Linked DNA regions of Homo sapiens: region 1 is linked to region 2. The links are contacts of gene promoters, found by promoter capture Hi-C in human tissues and cell types (Jung and others, 2019). All regions are on one chromosome and are shown on one strand. The core of a region is centred on a gene start or on the middle of the fragment in contact, and the rest is flanking DNA. Distances in the headings are between cores, read along the strand shown.

What was found. The method cuts DNA at HindIII sites, captures the fragments that hold promoters and counts their contacts. A contact is called where the count stands out against the background at its distance.
Region 1: the fragment with the promoter of GDPD3 here is called in contact with a fragment that was not itself captured in region 2 in 1 of the 25 tissues and cell types used here (dorsolateral prefrontal cortex).

What each region holds. Positions count from the first base shown.
Region 1 is chr16:30,110,898-30,115,317 of GRCh38, forward strand. GDPD3 (glycerophosphodiester phosphodiesterase domain containing 3) reads right to left here and starts at 2,640. Exons shown (of 10, transcript NM_024307.3): 1 at 2,443-2,640; 2 at 2,125-2,167; 3 at 1,761-1,896; 4 at 1,626-1,671; 5 at 1,409-1,527; 6 at 1,235-1,324; 7 at 491-624. The coding sequence starts at 2,581. It overlaps MAPK3 (mitogen-activated protein kinase 3), which reads right to left. Exons shown (of 9, transcript NM_002746.3): 9 at 3,208-3,811. RefSeq lists a silencer at 2,611-2,905. The HindIII fragment of the contact is 6,526 bases long and covers 1-4,420 here.
Region 2 is chr16:30,542,893-30,547,476 of GRCh38, forward strand. The region is part of intron 1 of LOC124903677 (a long non-coding RNA gene); the gene reads right to left. Among named protein-coding and RNA genes, the nearest start is that of ZNF747-DT, 10 kb to the left of the region's middle. The HindIII fragment of the contact is 5,019 bases long and covers 1-4,148 here.

The DNA.
Region 1 (4,420 bases), core at 1,390-3,889, 430 kb before region 2:
TAGGCTTAAGTGCCAGCGAAGTATCCAAATTCCTGATCCTTTCCCCAGCTGTTACTTTGTTAACCCCTGCCTTCCTGCAGAACACTGACTTGGCCTTTTCCTGCTGAGGGTCTGAGACAGCCGTGCTATAATTAATGAACGAATGTCTCCCCAGCCAGACTGTAAGCTCACCAAGGACCTCTCCCCACCCTCACTGGTCTCATTTACACATTATAACTGCACCTGGGACAGAGTAGACATTCAATAAAATATGCTAGATGGCCTGAGATGGATAAATTACCTCTCTATCCTAAAACTCCACATATGCACAGAATTTCAGGGTGTTCACAGTTCCCTTAGTATTCATGAATGCTGGGTAAGAACCACTGTCCTTAAAAGACCTTGGGGGTTATCTCTGAGGGGAGCTGGGGAGCTGGGAAGATCTGGGCTCCTTCTCCACGGAGACCCTAAGCAGTGGGGAGTTTTTCTGAGGTCCGCCCCCCACTGGTACCTGTTGATGATGTTGGGCAGGAAGCAGAAGAAGAACTTCTCAGGGATTGGGATGAAGGGCAGCAGCCCCAGGTAGTAGGAAAGCAGCACCCAGAATCCTCGGCTTATTGTGAAGGACAGGGGCATCTCGGGGTTCTGGGGAGGCAAGGAGAGGCATGAGAATCTGTCTGCTCTGGGGAAGCAGAGAGGAGGCATGAGCTGCAGGGGAGCCGTGGTGGGCATTCCAGAGGCCCTACTACCTGCAGGATCCAAGTCACATCTTGGGGCTGGGTGTGGTGGCTCACGCCTGTAACCTCAGCAGTTTGGGAGGCTGAGGCAGGTGGATCACCTGAGATCAGGAGTTCAAGACCAGCCTGGCTAACATGGTAAAACCCCATCTCTACTAAAAATACAAAAATTAGCTGGGCGTGGTGGCGTGCACCTGTAATCCCAGCTACTCGGGAGGCTGAAGCATGAGAATCGCTTGAACCCAGGAGGCAGAGGTTGCAGTGAGCCGAGGTCGCACCACCGCACTCCAGCCTGGGCGACAGAGAGAGACTGTGTTTCAAAAAAGAAAAAAAACAAAAGTCACATCTTGGCTCTGTGTTCGAGGCCTGAGTTCACACCCTTTTCATTGCCACCGCCACGCCACTGGGAACTCTCCCAGACCCCTCTAGCTCGGGTCCCCATGCTGGGTGGGCTCCAGCTCTGGGGAGGAGGGGCCCCTGGAGGAGGAAGAGGACGGGGGAGGGGTGGGGGGACTCACGGCAGCCTTGCATTTCTTCATGACCGAGCTCTTCTCCGAGGCCCAGATGGTGATTTCATTACGGTCATAGCGTCTCACCAAGCCTGCTATCTGGGAGGAGGAGAAGGAGGTGAAGGGAGAGCCAGGCCTCTCTCACGCCCCCGGTGGCCGCCCTAGCCCTGCCTGCAGCACCACCTCACGGATGAGCTCTTCGTTCTTCCCTTTGATCTCTACGCTCATGGGTGTCCTTGGAAACCTCTGGAACAGGTCCTCCAGACGAACCATGCGCCGGTCTGACCCGTGAGCAAAGTGGCCTGGGGGTGGTGTGGGAAAAGGGGTCAGAGGGAAGCCAAGGCGGAGGTCCAAGGAAGGCAGGCATGGCCCAGGCAGGGCTCGAAGCCCTTGCTCTCACCTGGAGAGAAGTAAACCTCCAGCTTCTCCTTGTAGAGGGGCAGGTCCTGGGGAGGACAGGAAGGATGTCACTAGAGGCCCGCATTGGGCATGGTGACTCTCAGGGTGGGGGTTGGGGTGTCAGGGCAGGGCCCACCTCGAAGTCCAGGCTGCCCACATCCCTGTTTAGGCCCGACTGGCGGCACAGGTTCTCATCATGTGACACCACCACCACTCTGTCCCGTGTCAGCTGACAGTCGAGCTCCAGGAGGTCCGAGCGCTGGGCCATGGAGCTGTGGGGGTGAAGGTCAGCGGGGGGCAGGGGCAGGGGACTGGGATGAGGGGCATGGTGGCTGGGAGGTGGCCGGGAATGTGAGAGCGGAGTTCGTGGCGGGATGTGCAGGCCACCTCCAGGGGGCGCCAGTCACCCAGCTAGGAAGTGAATGGCGTCCCTTGCTGTGATGCAGTCCACGACCTGCACACCCTCACATGGCAGCCTGGGCAGGGGCAGATACACTCACTTCTCCATGGCCTCCATGGTGTTCTCCAGCAGCTCTCCAGATCCTGTGGGGGGCACTGGAGTGGGCCTCTGGGGCTTGGGGTCTAGGGGCCTGGCCCAACCTCATCACCCACATTCCCTCTCTGGGCTCCATCCTCCCTCTGGCCTCACCTCCCCAGCCAGCCCAGGCTGCGCCAGCATCTTCTTCCTCGTCCACACCCTGCCCTGCCACTTCGCTCTCCTTCTCTCTTGGTCCCTGCCCCGTTTCTAGCATGCCCCCTTGGACCTACCCCTCTGTGCTGTCCACTTTGGCACCTGTTCTCACCCCTACCCGGCTCACCTCCTCGGTGGGCCCCCAGGCGGATGCGGAAGGTGGGAGCCCTGGGCGTGTGCAGCAGATGAGGCCGGCGCAGGAAGAAGATGGAGAGCATGGCATAGCTGCCCAGGGCAGGGAGGGCATAGTACAGCAAAAGGCTCATGACCGTACTCCCACAGAAGCTCCTGCAGCCACACGCTCAGCCGTCCGCGGGACTGTGCTGCCTGCCTAGCCAGTGTGGGCCGGCTCTACTACTGGCCACTGCCACGCCCCTGGGACCTGCTGAGCCTGCCGCTGGGCTGGCTTGGAGCCAGGCTGCAGGGTTCGGCTGAAGCTGGGGTAGTGTCAGGAGGTGAGGCAAGTAGCCCTGGCTCTCATATCCCCAGGCCCTTCCCAGCCCCCAGCAGCCCCGTCCTGGGCTACATGAGGGGAGTAAAAACCACCCAGGACTGTCAGGACCTCTCCCTCTCACTGGTACTTGTAGCCAGCGCATCCAACATGCCTACCCCTTGCCATTTCAGAGGATCCAGGGGTGTGTAGGGTGCTCCTGAGTCACCCCGAATCACCCCCAGCCAGTTAGACAGGAAGCCATTAGCGAGAGGACAGGACAGTGACTAAGGGGAAAACTGACCCCCTTCTTTCTAGGAGTCTGGAGCTCTCCAGAGCCCCGTCCCCAGCCCTGGGCAGCTGGGAGTGAAGGGCACCAGGCCCCTGAAAGCCCAAGTCAAGTCTGTCCTCAGAGCCGCACGGGGCAGGGCGGGGGCGTCGCGAACACAGACAGAGCCAGGGTCAGCCATAGACACATCTCTATATTTATATATTAGACGGGTCAGGGAGGTGGCAGGGGCGCCGGGCTCTCCACGCCCCCCAGCTCCACTTCTGCTCACCACACACAGAAGCAGCGAGGGCACGCGAAGTGACAGCTTTGACAGGGAGGGGATTCGGCCCGGCCTGGCTCCTCAGGGATGCTAGCCCTTGAGACTAAGGAATGTTCCTTCAGGGAAACTAGGGTGGGGTTTGAATGAGATGAGGGGGGCAGGCATGGCCCTGAGTCCCTACTCAGCGCCCCCCACCCTCCACCTCTGCCCTTCAGCAGGTTGGGGCAGCCAGAACCCTTCCATTCCAGAACTGCCAGAGACTGGGACGCTGGGGAAGGTAAGGGCGCAGCAGCAGCAGCGGGAGATTGAACTGGGGCCACCTGAGGTCCCGAGGCCCCGTGGGGAGGGCGGGTGGGGAGGAGAAGGCCTTGGCCTGCCTGAAGCTGGAGGCCTCAGCAAAGGAGAGAGGTGGCCAGGCCCATGCTCCACCCCGGCCTGGGCTGCCAAGGTCCGGGCTGGGCACAGTGTCCATTTTCTAACAGTCTGGCGGGAGAGGGGCAGGCAGGAGGCAGGTCCTAAAGAGAGAAGCAGGCAGAAGAGGAGTCGTTAGCACCCCCCGGGCAGACCCACTGGAGCCCTGACCTCAACATCTCTCATTTCACCCTCACAGCTGGATAGGCTGGGTCTCAGTTTCCTTATCTGTAAATGGAGATAATAATAGTACCTAGCTTGAGGTACTGCTGTAAGATTAAAGGAATTAATACATGTAAACCTCTTAGAACAATGCTTAGGGCTTTATGCTTTCATTATTAGAACTGTCTCGGCCGGGCACAGTGGCTCACGCCTATAATCCCAGCACTTTGAGAAGCTGAGGTGGTGGATCGCTTGAGCCCAGGAGTTTGAGACTGGCCTGGGCAACATAGCAAGACCCCAGCTCCACAAAAAAAAAAAAAAAAAATTAGCCGGTTGCAATGGCTCGTCCAGCTAGCTGGGAGGATCCCTTGCACCCAGGAGTTTTGAGGCTGCAGTGAGCTATGATTGCACCACTGCATTCCAGCCTGGGTGACAGAGCGAGACACTGTCTCAAAAAAACAAAACCAAAAAAAAAGATAAATAGATTGACTCCGGAAACTGAGGCGCCGAGAGGTGAGGTGCCTTGCCCAATATCACACAGCACTTACTAA
Region 2 (4,584 bases), core at 389-2,888:
TTAACGGGGATTGGTAGGGGTTGGTCTCCTGGGGCAACGTTGATTTTTGGACTGAGGAAAACCAGGGTGTGCAGGCGCCCATCCAGTTAGAGGGGAGGCAAATATAAGTTGAGGTACTGCATAGGAAAAGTATGCCTTGGTTTGTTAGAGAGAACTGGTGTGTATGCTAAAAAGATATACATTTTGTTATTTTCATGCATTTATACTTCTGGGGTCCCGGCTAGGGCTGCTGCTGTAAGTGGTTGTAAAGGGGTGTTTGGTTTAGGCTGGGAGGCTTTTGGGTTCTTTTTTTTGCCAGTGTAAGAGGAAGCGTTTTGTTTCCACTAAGATGCATGTGGGAGTGTTGTTGAATGTTGGGAGAAGGAGACAGTCCCGGGTGGTGGGTGTAGGGTAAGGATGGTGCATGGAGAGGGGAGTCAAGGGAAGAGGGATAAACAGGGGAGGTGTTGGCCATTACAGTACCCTTAATTTTTGTTAAGGAGGTGGAGGCTAGAGAAATAAAGCCTGTCTTTTTTGTTGGCGGCTTTGAGAGTAGTATGTTCGGTGGGAGGTTTGAGTTGTAGGGTAAAGTTGCAGTTTGGAATTCAGGTGGCTGAGGGGAATGCCAGAGGGTAGATGTCATTGGATGCACAGCAGTGCTGGATAGGATAAGATTTTGTGGGTTGTTATGGCTCCTAATACGGGTTTATCACAGCTGTGGTAGGGGGATAGGTTGCGTAAATAGGGATGTAAGGTTGTAACAGCTGGACCCAACTCATTAGCTAACTGAGGGGAGATTTCTGTTAATGCCTGCATGTCGAGTTCGAGGGGGCTGTTAATGAGGATTTCGGGATGGTAGGTTACTTGGGTGGAAGTCCAGTTACAGGCTGAGGCAGGGATTGCATTGTATATTGTGGAGAGGAGGGATAGAGGAGGTTCCTGGAGGTAGGGGTTTAGCTTCAATTACTCGGCCAAGGAAAACAACTGCATACCCAGCAATTTTGGGGGAGCCAGTGGGTACGGAAGAGGAGCTATCTATAAATAGCTGGTCATTGGGGTTGGTGAGAGGCTGGGAGGAAATGTTTAGAAAGTGTGGCTGCAGGTGATCTAGGATGTTAGTATAAGAATGAGTAGAAGGGGAAGAAGATACAGGGAGTAAGGATGCTGGGTTGAGGGGAGCACTTTTGAAAAGACTGAATTTGGGATTTTCGATAAAGAAGGCATGGAGTAAGCCGGGCGCGGTGGTTGACGCCTGTAATCCTAGCACTTTGGGAGGCTGAGGCGGGTGGATCACCTGAGGTCAAGAGTTCGGGACCAGCCTGGCCAACATGGTGAAACCCCCTCTCTACTAAAAATACAAAAATTAGCCAGGCGTGGTGGCACACGCCTGTAATCCCAGCTATGCAAGACACTGAGGCAAGAGCGAAACTCCATCTCAAAAAAAAAAAAAAAAAAGGCATGGAGTGATTGAATCCATGAAGGAGAAAGGGAGCCTAATGCTCAGGAGGAGAGGAGATCTTGTAGATTATGAGGACTGCAGACGGTGGTATTCTGGCTGAAAGTTAGTTTCCTGCTTTTTAGAGCTAAAATGGCCACCACTGCTAGTGCTTTAAGGCAGGTTGGCCACCCTTTGACTGTGTCATCTAGTTGTTTAGAGAGGTAAGTTACAGGGGCAAAAGAAGGAGGATTTTTTTCCTGTTGTCCTAAGACATCGAGGGTTATTCCTCAGTTTTTGGAAGTATGGAGAGTGAAAGGTTGGGAGATAATAGGTAAGGACAGAGTTGGTGCAGTGACGAGCGGTTTTGAGTTTGTAGAAGCTGGGGAGTATGTTATGTGAGGGTTTTAGGGGTTCATCGAGAGGGTGTTTGGCCGCTTTATAGAGGGGGCAAGCTAGGAGGGTAAAGTTGAGAATCCATATTCTAAAGAAGCCTGCTAACCCTGGGAAGGAAAGGATTTCTCGTTTGGAAGAGCGCGGGGGGTAGATTATTAATGCTGCTCAGGCTGGGGTCACAGTCCAGGCCCCAGGGGAAGTTGAATTTCTAAGTAGGTTACCATGGAGGTGGAGAATAGTGTGGAGTTTTGAAAAGGGTATCTCTGCCCAGGAGCGGAGTTGGACATGAGGGCAGGACTAAGGAAGAGTGAGTGAAGGAAAAACTGTGCAGGGAGCAGAAGAGTGGAGGGGTGGCTCGGGGTTTGGTGACTTGTCCATCAATTCCTACAACAGAGACCTGGGAGGACTGGGTGGGTCCTGAAAAATTAGGTAAAGCAGAGTAGTTTGTCCCGGTATTAATTTAAAAAATATATATACTGGCCCATTTGCCACCATTAGGGTTATTTTGGCTTGAATGAAGAGATGGTAGTTGCTGGGGGCGTTCATTCCAGGGCACCGTCAAGTCTTCAGTGGCAAGGCCGATGAAATCCGAGTAGGAGGTTTTGGCTGGCTCAGGAGGGGATGGGGGCAGTCCTTGCTGGGGCCACTCACAGTCTGACTTCCAGTGGGGTCCTCCACAGAGGGGGCATGGCCTGGTGGGCTTTCCTGGGTTTGGGCATTGTCTGGACCAGTGGCCTTTATTGCCACACTTGGAACAGGTGCCAGGTGGAAGTGAATTGTTAGGAGGCTTCCATGTGGAGCTGCGGTCCCGTGGGCCTGCAGGGCCTCTAATGGCAAAGGCAAGCATTTGAAACTTTGCCTGTTTTTGCCTTTTATTTTCCTCATTATGATTGTTAAAGATTTTGAAGGCTAAATTAAGAAGGTCTCATTGTGGGGTTTGAGGGCCATTGTCAAGCTTCTGAAACTTGCATCAAATATTGGGAGTGGATTGGGAGATGAACTGAAGGTTTAAAATATTGGGAGACAAACTGAAGGTTTAAAATAGTGTTTCTTTTTGGGCTGGCTGGGTCTGGGTTGGTATATTTTCTCATGGCTTCAGTTAAATCAGAGAGAAAAAGGGCTGGGTTTTCGTTAGGAACCTTGGGTGATTTCTGAAAGTTTTTTATAGTTTACCGCTTTATAGGCAAACTTTTGGAGTCCTGTAAAGAGACATACAATCATGTGGTCTCAATGGTGGCGTCCAGAGGCCCCGTCTTGATAATCCTAGGGTGGTCCTGGTTGGGGACTGCCTTTGCACCAGTAGGCTGGGCAGGAGCCTGGTGATGAATGGTATCAGCATGTGCCTGATCTAGGGTCCAGTTATGGTCTCGGTCTTCTGGGGTGAGGGTAGAAGAGAGGATGATGTAGGGGTTATGCTAGGTTAGTTCATAAGACTGGGTAAGGTACTGAAACTTCCTAATATAAGAGGTAGGGTCTTCTGGAAATGAACCAAGTCTTTTGTTAATTACAGAGAGATCAGTGAGGGAGAAGGGAACATAAACTCTAACAATACTTTCAGCTCCTGCTGCTTCCTGAAGGGGAAGTAAGGGAGCTGGTTGCTGAACATGTTGGGCCCAAGAGCGGGTGAGGGGTGGAGACGGAGAGGAACCAGAGTCAGAAGCGGGGTGGTTTGAGAGACGGGGAGAAGGGTAGAGCTGGAACGGGGACATACAGTGGAGGATTAGGATGCTCCTGTGGAGGATCGTGATGCTGTCGGGGAGGGGGAAAATTGGCAGAGTCAAAGGAAGAGGAATCGTCCTAAGCTGGGGCTGTGGGGAGGAGGATAGGAGGCGAGTCAGATTTGGAGCGGACAAGGAGGATTTAGAAAGTAGAACAAGACTGACAGAGGGAATGGCAGTTACAGAGAGTGAAGATGTAGCAGGACAACCTGCAGACAAAACCCTTCAGACACCGAGTTAAAGAAGGAAGGGCTTTATTCGGCCAGGTGCTTCAGCAAGACTCACTTCTCCAACAACCAAGCTCCCCGAGTGAGCAATTCCTATCCCTTTTAAGGGCTCACAACTCTAAGGGGGTCCACGTGAGAGGGTTGTGATCTATTGAGCAAGCACGGGGCACATGACTGGGGGCTGCATGCACCGGTAATTAGATCGGAACAGAACAGGACAGGGATTTTCTTTTTTTTTGAGACAGAGTCTCGCTGTGTCACCCAGGCTGGAGTGCAGTGGCGCGATCTCTGCTCACTGCAAGCTCCGTCTCCCAGGCTCACACCATTCTCCTGCCTCAGCCTCCCAAGTAGCTGGGACTACAGGCGCCCGCCATCACGCCCGGCTAATTTTTTGTACATTTAGTAGAGACGGGGTTTCACCATGTTAGCCAGGATGGTCTCAATCTCCTGCCCTTGTGATCCACCCGCCTCGGCCTCCCAAAGTGCTGGGATTACAGGCGTGAGCCACCGCGCCCAGCCCAGGACAGGGATTTTCACAGTGCTTTTCTATACAATGTCTGTAATCTATAGATAAGATAACCGATTAGGTCAGGGGTCGATCTTTAACTACCGGGCCCAGTGTGTGGCACTGGGCTGTCTGCTTGTGGATTTCATTTCTGCCTTTTACTTCTTCTTTCTTTGGAGGCAGAAATTGGGCATAAAACAATATGAGGGGTGGTCTCCTCCCTTAAAGAAAACCTGAACATAAGGAATCTCAGACCATTTCCCACTGTGATGGCAAAAGTTGTAAAGTGCTATTTTTGGGCCATTGGGAGCCACTGTCCAGTTG